2 separate regions of the Homo sapiens genome follow, and region 1 is linked to region 2. Evidence: promoter capture Hi-C in 16 types of primary human blood cells and fetal thymus (Javierre and others, 2016). All regions are on one chromosome and are shown on one strand. Each heading gives the region's core, a stretch centred on a gene start or on the middle of the fragment in contact. The rest is flanking DNA. Distances are from core to core; before and after follow the strand shown. Region 1 holds the start of NCOA6 (nuclear receptor coactivator 6). Region 2 holds the start of CEP250 (centrosomal protein 250).

Region 1 (5,279 bases), core at 1,751-4,250, 630 kb before region 2:
AATTCAGCCCCAGTACCCCAAGGACTGCCCCAATCTGAACCAGCGTCTGTACCCAAAGGGCCCTCATTCCTCATCAATCACCTCCTTCCCTCCCAGCAAAGAACTGCTCCAGCCCTGACAGCCTGAGCTTGGCCCCCATGCCTCCACCCCAATCCCCAGGTCCTACCTGCATTAGGGCTCTAACACCGCCTAAGGCCTAACCCAGTTCCACGTCCTGCCATCCTCTCAGCCCATAGACCCCAATCCCGGTTCCCTTCGGACCCAGTGTTCCTTCTCCGCGACCCTGACCACGACCCCACGACCGGCTCCCGCCTGTTCCCCAGGCCTGGAGCGCCACCCCGTGCAGACCCCGGCCAGCCCTGCACTCCCTCAGTGCACCGGCCCCCGCGCCCAGCACCCTCCCCACCCAGCCCGGCCGCCGCTCCCTCCAGCGCCCCCGCCCGCAGGCCTGGGGCCCGCTCCCCAACATGGCGACGGGGACACAAGCGCGGCGGGCGGGGCGGCTCCGGGCCGGGCCCGCTCTCAGACCGTGCCACTCGGTCGCCCGGCGCCATTTTTCCGCGCGGGCCCGGGCGGCGCCTCCTCCCCGCGAAGCCAGCCCGACAAGGACCGCGGACGCCCGGCGGGCCCACCCCTTACGGGCCCGCGCCGCCGTCCCCTCACCTGAGCGCGGCCCCGGCCCTCCCGGGCGGGCCTTGGAGCGCCGGCCCGGGCCGTGCGTGCCCGCCGCCCTCGGTGCGTCCGTCCGTCAGTCCTCGCGTGCGCCCGTCTGTCCCGCCGCCCGCGCCCGGCCGCCCGCAGCCCGACCCGGCAGGGCCTCACGGAGCCGGCGGGGAGGGGGATGGGCCGGACCGGGCCGGGGAGGGAGGGGGAGGGAGGGAGAGAGGGAGGGAGCGCGAGAGGGGGCGGGGCGGACTCGAGGGGCGGGGCATTGCCCACGTGACCAGACGTCCCCGGGAGCGCGAGGTGGAGCGCGCGCCAGCTCCCTTCGGTGCTGAGTGCTTAGTGCTGGGATCTCGTGGGTCTCTGTCGGCTTTCCAGGGCTATTCTCTCGCCAGTGAGTCCCACTTCGGAAGCACACATTGCACAGTCTTTTGCGAGCGCTCTGAGTATCCTTGGACATGGCAACTCCAAGCCTCAGTTTACCCATCTGAAATATGGGGAAAATCATAGTGCTTGTGAAGAGCAAATGGAGGTGGGCTTGGAAAGCACTTGTCACCGTGCCTGACACATACTGTCTAATAATAAGCTTAATGGGATATAGATAAAAGCTTTCATTATTATTTGCCTCTAAATCCCTCTCTTCTTTTTCCCATCATTACCTCCCTAGCAAGCTAAAATGCTCAGTAAATAGAATTATTGATCGAACGAGTGTGGCCCCTCCCCTCTTCCCAAACGTAGAAAGGCCTCCTCAGCACTGGACTTCATGTCTGTCATACAGGCCTGGATTCATATCTGGCTTTCACTCTTTTTTAAAAATTTTCTGTTTTTTCCCACACTACACTGATGTATTTTTTAAATTTTCGTAAGTACGTAGTAGGTGAATATATTTATGGGGTACATGAGATTTTGATACAGGCATGCGATGTGTAATCACATCATGGTAAATGGGGTATCTAGCAACTCAAGCATTTATCCTTTGTGTTACAAATAACCCAATTATACTCTAGTTATTTTAAAATGTACAAGTAAATTTTGTGTGTGTGTGGTTTTTTTTTTGTTTTTTGTTTTATTTTTGTTTTTTTGAGACGGAGTCTCACTCCGTCGCCCAGGCTGGAGTGCAGTGGCGCGATCTCAGCTCACTGCAACTTCCGCCTCCCTGGTTCAAGGGATTCGCCTGCCTCAGCCTCCTGAGTAGCTGGTACTACAGGCGCATGCCACCACGCCCAGCTAATTTTTGTATATTTTTTAAGTAGAGATGGGGTTTCACCATATTGGCCGGGCTGGTCAGGAACTCCTGACCTCATGATCCGCCCGCCTCTGCCCCTCAAAGTGCTGGGATTATAGGCGTGAGCCACCGCGCCCGGCCAATTGTTTTTTACTGTAGTCACCTTCTTGTGCTAGCAAATACTAGGTCTTATTCTTTCTAACTATTCTTTTGTACCCGTTAATCATTCCCACTTCCCACCTACCTCCCCATTAATCTTACCAGCCTCTGGTAACCCTCCTTCTATTCTCTATCTCCATGAGTTCAATTGTTTTAATTTTTCGCTCCTGGCCCGGCATGGTGGCTCACGCCTGTAATCCTAGCACTTTGGGAGGCCAAGATGGGCGGATCACCTGAGGTCAGGAGTTCAAGACCAGCCTGGCCAACATGGTGAAACCCTGTCTCTACTAAAATACAAAAGCTAGGTGGGCATGATGGCGGGTGCCTGTAATCCCAGCTACTCAGGAGGCTGAGACGGGAGAATCTCTTGAACCTGGGAGATGGTGGTTGCGGTGAGCCTAGCTCGCGCCACTGCACTCCAGCCTAGGTGGCTGAGTGAGACTCCGTCTCAAAAAAAAATAAAAAATAGTTAATTTTTTGCTCCCACAAATAAGTGAGAACATGTGAAGTTTGTCTTTCTGTGCCCGGCTTCTTTCACATAACATAATGACCTCCAGTTCCATCCATATTGTTGCAAATGACACGATCTCACTCTTTTTTAATGGCGGAATAGTATTCCATTGTGTATATGTACATTTTATTTATCCATTCATCTGTTGATGGACACTTAGGTTGCTTCCAAATCTTGGCTGTTGTGAACAGGGATGCAGTAAACATGAGAGTGCAGATCTCTTCCATACACTGATTTCCTTTCTTTCCGGTGTATACCTAAGAATGGGATTGCTGGATTGTATGGCAGCTCTCTTTGGCTTTCGCTCTTGATAGCTGTCCTTGCCTCTCTGAACTTGAGCATCTTCATCTGTAAAATGGGAGTTGGGGTCTGTTCTGAGCATCCCAGGAGATAGAGGATGAGCAGGTGGATTGTAAACTAATTAAACAAATCAGTCCTACTGATCCCATAGAAGAAAGGGAGTCAGGAACCCTTTCATTCCATCAATATTTATTGAGTACACACAGTGTGCTTGGACTGGTGTAGTAGATACCCACCATCTTTTCACATTACCCTGACCGCCCTCTAATCTATTCTCCACCCTGCTGTCAGAGTAATGTTTCTAATGATCAGAAATATGATCATGTCACTACTCTACTTAAAAGTATCTGTTGATGGCCAGGTGCAGTGGCTCACACCTGTAATCCCAACACTTTGGGAGGCTGAGGCAGGTGGATTGTTTGAGCCCAGGAGTTCAAGACCGGGCTGAGCAACATGGCAAACGCTGTCTCAACAAAAAATACAAAAATGGCTGGGCTCAGTGGCTCATGCCTATAATTCCAGCACTTTGGGAGGTCGAGGTGGGTGGATCACGTCAGCTCAGAAGTTCGAGACTAGTCTGGGCAACATGGCAAAACCCCATCTCTACTGAAAATACAAAAATTAGCTGGGCATGGTGGTGCACACCTGTAGTCCCAGCTAATCGGGAGGCTGAGGCATGAGGCAAGAATCACTTGAGCTGGAAGGTGGAGGCTTCAGTGAGCCGAGATAACACCACTGCCCTCCTGCCTGGGTGGCAAAGGGAAACCGTGTCTCAAAAAGACAACAAAAGACAAAAACATAGCAGGCATGGTGCTGCACACCTGTGGCCCCAGCCACTTTGGAGGTTGAGGTGGGAGGATTGCCTGAGCCTGGGAGGTTGAGGCTGCAGTAAGCTAAGATCATATCATTGCACTCCAGCCTGGGCAATAGAGTGAGACCCTGTCTCAAAAAAAAAAAAAAATCTGATGGCTCTACATTGCTCTTAAGATAAAGGCCAAGCCGGGCGCGGTGGCTCACGCCTGTAATCCCAGCACTTTGGGAGGCCGAGGCGGGCAGATCACAAGATCAGGAGATCGGACCATCCTGGCTAACACGGTGAAACCCCGTCTCTACTGAAAATACAAAAAATTAGCCGGGCGTGGTGGCAGGCGCCTGTAGTCCCAGCTACTCGGGAGGCTGAGGCAGGAGAATGGTGTGAACCCAGGAGGCGGAGCTTGCAGTGAGCCGAGATCGCGCCACTGCACTCCAGGCTGGGCGACAGAGCGCGACTCCGTCTCTAAAAAAAAGATAAAGACCAAATAAATGTTGGCCTCCCCACATCTCTAGATTTATCTTAGGGCCCTCTTCCCCTTTCTCTGGGTTGCAACTACAGTGATATTTCTTACACATTGTTCTCCCTCCTTTCTGAGAACCCTTGCACATGCTGATCCCCCTGCCTGCAATGCTCTCCCCACTTAGATAACTCTCAGTCTTCAGATCCCAGTTCAAACGGGGCTACTCCAAGGATACCTTCCCTGACCCATTCCCACACAGGTTTTCTTAGCACGATATGCTTGTCCTTAGTAGAATACACTGAGTCATTATTACCTGTCTTTGCCACTAGACTATGGACACCATAAGGAAGAAAACCTTATCCATCTTGTTTAACATTGTTTTCTCAGCATATAGCACAGCACCTGGCACAGAGTAGGTGCTCAGTAAGTATTTGTTGCGTTTGTGAATCCTAAGCACAATACTAGGTATTGGGCCCAAGAGGGCAGACAGGAGCAAAGAGAACCACAGGCAACCGCAACAGGGGGGCACCTTAGACCTTTGAGCCTATGAAATTAACACCAAATAAATTTAAAATATCCTGGAAAAAAAAACTTTTCTGAAGCTTTTTATTTTAACTTTTAAAAACTGAAATATAATTTATATACAATAAAATGAAAAACTATTAAGTGTATATCTAATAATTTTTTTGCCTACATTCCTGTGTTACCACCACCTAGATCAAGTTATAGATCTATCAACCCAGAAAGTTCCCTTTTGTTCTCTTTTGTATGTTCTCTTCTAATAAATACCTGCTCCCCCAGATGTAACCATTATTCTGACTTCTAGCACCATAGATTAACTTTTTTTTTTTTTTTGAGATGGAGTCGCGCTCTGTCGCCCAGGCTGGAGTGCAGTGGCACAATCTCGGCTCACTGCAAGCTCTGCCTCCCGGGTTCACGCCATTCTCCTGCCTCAACCTCCTGAGTAGCTGGGACTACAGGCACCCACCACCACGCCAGGCTAATTTTTTGTATTTTTAGTAGAGACGGGGTTTCACCGTGGTCTCGATCTCCTGACCTTGTGATCTGCCCGCCTTGGCTTCCCAAAGTGCTGGGATTACAGGCATGAGCCACCACGCCCAGCCGTAGATTAACTTTGACAGTTTTT
Region 2 (5,173 bases), core at 2,255-4,754:
ATGAGAATCTAATGCCTGATGATCTGAGGTGGAAGTCTCATCTCAAAACCATTCCCACCCACCCCTGCCCATCCCTGTTTCACACACCAGCTAATTCCACTTTGGGCTTTGGCTCAGATAATATCCAGTTGTACTACATTATTATGTTTTAATACAATTTCCAACTTGTCCTTACTACATTGTATTATTATTCAATACTAGAACATAATCAATGCTCAATAAATGTCCACTGGGTAAATGAATAAATAAGGGAATGAATCCCCCTTTACAAACATCAAAGATTACTATTTGGTTTGGTATATCTTGGTAGTCTGAAACCTGTTTACTCCTCATAGTCTTTTTCTTTGAGATGAACTTTCGCTCTTGTTGCCCAGGCTAGAGCACAATGGTGCAATCTCGGCTCACCGCAACCTCCGCCTCCCGGGTTCAAGTGATTCTCCTGCCTCAGCCTCCCGAGTAGCTGGGATTACAGGCATGCGCCACCACGCCTAGCTAATTTTATATTTTTAGTAGAGATGGGGTTTCTCCCTGTTGGTCAGGATGGTATTGAACTCCCAACCTCAGGTGATCTGCCCACCTCAGCCTCCCAAAGTGCTGGGATTACAGGCGTGAGCCACCGCACCCGGCCGACTCCTCATAGTCTTAAAAAATATTGTCTAGTTTGCTAATGGATGTTATGTCATTAAACTTTGTAACACTAGGGCTGACTTGATTCATTCATTCAATGGACACTTACTTGATACCTACCATGTGTGTAAGACTGTGCTAAATCCCAGGAATAAGTCTCCTATCCACACAAAGCTTAAATTTTGGAGGGAATGTTAATAGGAAAACAAAATAATAAATGGAAAGTGCTATGAAAGAAACAGAAGACGGCCGGGTGCGGTGGCGCATGCCTGTAATGCCAGCATTTTGGGAGGCTGAGGCGGGCGGATCACGAGGTCAGGAGATCAAGACCATCCTGGCTAACACGGTGAAACCCCGTCTCTACTAAAAATACAAAAAAATTAGCCGGGCGTGGTGGCGGGCACCTGTGGTTCCAGCTATTGGGGAGGCTGAGGCAGAAGAATGGCGTGAACCCGGATGGTGGAGCTTGCAGTGAGCCGAGATTGCGCCGCTGCACTCCAGCCTGGGCGACAAAGCAAGACCCCGTCTCAAAAAGAAAAGAAACAGAAGACTATCCTAGAAAGTATAGGGTATTACTTTAGATAGCATGGTCAGGGAAGACCTAGTTGAGGAAGTATCATTTAAGCTGGGACCTGAAGGACAGGAAGGTACCAGCTAGGCCAAGAGCTGGGGGAAAAGTGGTCTAGGTAGCTGGCATAGTGTATGCAAACGCCCTGAGGCAGAAAAGAGCTTGATGTGCATAATATTTAGATTGTTTCATTTGTATTTCAAATATTGTTGCAGTGAACATTCAAGCACAATGCCTGTTGTGGGATTATTTCCCTAGGATGGAATCCCACACCACTGCTTCTTTGCATCGTTTTCTCTGTCTAGTGCCTGGAGATGTTCCTTTTCCCCTCTCTAGATAGTTTGCCTTTCAGAATCCGTGTCCTTCCTTCCCCTTTTACTCTCCACTTTCTCTATTTCTCAAATTAGCTATTAAGATCTTTTTTGTGTTCTTACAGGAGAAAGATAAAATATAGCTTTTAAGCGTTCCTTTCTCAGGTTACCTTTGGCTGTGGATTAACCTGAAGCCTTGCTGTTTCACTCGAGCTATCCACTCATTCACCCATTCACTCAGCACTTATTGAGCACCTATTTTGTACCAGGCCTTGTGCTGAGCGCTATAGTCAGATGACCAAATTACAGTCTCTACGCTCAAGCTCACAATCTCATGCAGCGCTTCCTAAAACGTGTTCCCAATTATCAGAATCACCCTGGGTACTTTCTAAAATGCAGATTCCTGGACTCCACCCCCGGTTTAGGGATTCTCTGGGGGTGGAAACCAAGAGTCTGCATTTACCAGTTTTGTTTTTAATTCCTACTAAAAATTGAGAACCACTGAGTGCAAGAGTGAGGCAGGTAAATGGAGTTTACAACTCTAAGAAAGTGCATTAACAATTTATACACAAGGCCGGGCGCGGTGGCTCACGCCTGTAATCCCAGCCCTTTGGGAGGCCGAGGCGGGAGGATCACGAGGTCAAGAGAGATCGAGACCATCCTGGCCAACATGGTGAAATCCTGTCTCTACTAAAAATACAAAAATTAGCCGGGCGTGGTGGCGGGCGCCTGTAGTCCCAGCTACTCGGGAGGCTGAGGCAGGAGAATTACTTGAACCTGGGAGGCAGAGGTTGCAGTGAGCCGAGATCGTGCCAATGCACTCCAGCCTGGCGACAGAGCAAGACTCCATTTCAAAAAAAAAAAAAAAAATTTATACACAAAATGCTACAGGAATAACGCATGGGTCCTATTGGGAAGAAAAAGTTCTCTAGAAGTCAGGCTTAAGCAGAACTGCAGCTCCGGGACGGATTAAGTCAGGTAAAGGTAACACTCTGTGCAGAGACATGCAGACAAAACCGAGTGTTGAGTAAGTAACTCGCCTGTAAGTGTTATGCTGCCTGAAGCTTCTCGGAGCGTCTGAGCAGCAAGGTGAACAACCCTCAGAAACCGGTCGCGCTGCCAGTATTATCGCTAACCAGTGGCAGCGAGCCCCTTTGTTTCTCGGCAGTTGTAATTGTAGTCTGGTTTGTAGGTGGAGCTGTGCGCAGGCGCACCTAGAACCAGGTGACCTTGCACATGCGCTGTATGTAACACTGAAGCCAAAAGCGAAATGATTGAGGGCAATTTTTCTTTTCTGCTTCCGAAATGTCCCTTTCGCGAATCCAGAGACCCTGACCGTCCCCATTTCTGGCTAGGGATCTTATAATTCTTAAAATAATACCCCCTTTCCTTCAGGGCCTCTCTAGTAAGTCGGCTGCCAATACCCAACATGGCGGGAGGCCCTGCGCCGGCTCAGTCTGCCTATAGGTGCAGGACTTGGAGGGGCGGGCCCCTCCCAAAGGGCGGGAGTTTGGGGGGGCGGGGCCTGGCCCTCTGCCTCGGGGTGGGCTCCGCCCCCGTCCCCCGCAGGGCCTTAGCAGCGGCTGCCGCAGCTCAATCGCGGAGCAACTAGCCGGGCGTCTGCGGGAGCCGAGCGTGGTGAGGTGGGGCCTCAGGGGCAGGTGGGAGGTGCTCGGGTTAACCGTCCGAGGCCCGGAGACCCGCCCGTCTAGGGCGCCTGAGGGAATCCCGTTCGGGCAGCGGCCTCTTGTTACCCGGGAGGAACCCGAGGCCCAGAGAGGGGCTGGGACGCGTCGTTAGGGCCCGGGGCCCGCTTGCCTCAGCTTCTTGCTGCCGCCAGCACGCTAAGCTCCAGTCGGCGCCGAAGGAGAGCTTCCCGACCCTCGTGTCCAGTAGCCGCAATCCCAGGCTGGGAGGGTGAGGCGCCGCGCTCTGCCGCCCCCCCGCCCCTCGCTCCCTGTGTCCTGGCGGATTTGCACGTAATCTATCCGAAAGCCCAGTCCCACCCGCCACCCGACTCTGGAGCTCCCATTCTTCAGGACCCTGCTGAAGTATCGCTTCTCAGCCGCCTTCTCCAGGCGCAGCTGCATTCGCTTCTCGGTTTTTGCACTCGCTGTGCACCGAGTTACTTTCCCGGCCCCTCGTTGACACCGTAAGCTCGTTCGTTAGATGTTATGCCTTGCCTTTTTCATCTCTAGATCCCAGGGCCTAGCACGTGATGATAATAGTCATGGCTTACTGTACGGAATGATCACAAATTGTCAGGTGCTACTGAATGCATTACACATAAGGGCCCATTTATTTATTTATTTAGAGACGGAGTTTCGCGCTTGTTGCCCAGGCTGGAGTGCAATGGCGCGATCTCGGCTCACCTCAACCTCCGCCTCCCGGGTTCAAGCGATTCTCCTGCCTCAGCCTCCCAAGTAGCTGGGATTGCAGGCATGCGCCACCACACCCGGCTAATTTTATGTTTTTAGTAGAGACGGGGTTTCTCCATGTTGGTCAGGCTGATCTCGAACTCCCGACCTCAGGTGATCCGCCCGCTTCGGCCTCCCAAAGTGCTGGGATTACAGGCGTGAGCCACCGCGCTCAGCCAAAGGCCTATTTAATCTTCCCAACAATCCTATGGGGTGAGTTCTTTCTATAGCTTCACGTTTTACCCATGAAGAAACTGAGGTATTCATAGAAAAAGTAATTTGCCAGGAGTCCCACAACTAATAAGTGGATGGAGCTGGGAAACTGTCCCCAGGGCATTTGATGACTTGACTAGATTGCCTTTGGGTTTAATCAACGTCTGTTGAATTGATCTTTACTTTGGCCCTGGGAGTTATTGGAGGCTAGGCTTGTGATCAGTATTTTACCGCGAAGGCTTAGAAAGGAGAACTGGTCCCAGATTTATAGAGGTCACAACAAAACCAAGGCTACTGGTACGCCCTCTGTTCCTTTAGTTCTTCTATCTTTCTTTGCTCCTTTTCGATCAGAAAGCTGCAGACATAGGTGTCATTATCGCTCACTATTTAAGAAGTGCCCCTCACAGAGCTGTGAGTTCGTAGTCCATGCTTTAACTAATGTAATGTTCATGCTTTAACAGCTAATGTAATGGAGAGAGTGTAGAATTTGGAATCAGATTGGGGTTCAGTCATTGCTCTGCCACTGACCAAGCTATAAGTTATATGCCTCCCCCCACTTTTTTTTTTTTTTTTGAGACCTGGTCTCAGTCACCCAGGCTGGAGTGCAGTGGTGCGATCTGGGTTCACTGGAACATCCTGTCTCCCAGGTTCAGGCGATTCTCCCGCCTCAGCCTCCTGAGTAGCTGGGATTACAGGCGCCCGCCACCGTGCCTGGCTAATTTTTGTATTTCTAGGAGAGATGGGGTTTTGCCATGTTGGCCAAGCTGGTCTCGAACTCCTGGCCTCAAATGATCTGCCCAACTCAGCCTCCCAAAGTGCTGGGATTACAGTTGTGAGCCACCACACCCAGCCTGTTTTTTTGCTTTTTATATAGGTAATAGAGCTGTTAGCATTTTGCAAGACCATTGGTGATAATATGGATCATGTTACCTAATGTCCTATAATAGTCAGTAATAATGGGCACTTGTTATAAACCAGGCTGTGTTTTAGGTAGGAGCTGGGAATACAGCATTCGATAAAACAATGCTTTTGCACTT

What was found. Contacts are between HindIII fragments. The CHiCAGO score rates a contact against its expected background, and 5 or more counts as called.
Region 1: a contact is called between a fragment that was not itself captured here and the fragment with the promoter of CEP250 in region 2, in 4 of 17 cell types (fetal thymus, endothelial precursors, total CD8 T cells and 1 more). The highest score is 8.4, in fetal thymus.

What each region holds. Positions count from the first base shown.
Region 1 is chr20:34,824,809-34,830,087 of GRCh38, forward strand. It overlaps NCOA6 (nuclear receptor coactivator 6), which reads right to left and starts at 843. Exons shown (of 15, transcript NM_014071.5): 1 at 664-843. RefSeq lists silencers at 310-749, 760-949. The HindIII fragment of the contact is 3,463 bases long and covers 1,270-4,732 here.
Region 2 is chr20:35,452,094-35,457,266 of GRCh38, forward strand. It overlaps CEP250 (centrosomal protein 250), which reads left to right and starts at 3,505. Exons shown (of 35, transcript NM_007186.6): 1 at 3,505-3,658. It overlaps MIR1289-1 (microRNA 1289-1), which reads right to left and starts at 2,004; the gene lies at 1,861-2,004. It also overlaps a transcript of GDF5 not described here. RefSeq lists enhancers at 2,440-2,489, 2,750-2,899 and a silencer at 2,920-3,299. The HindIII fragment of the contact is 4,927 bases long and covers 2,569-5,173 here.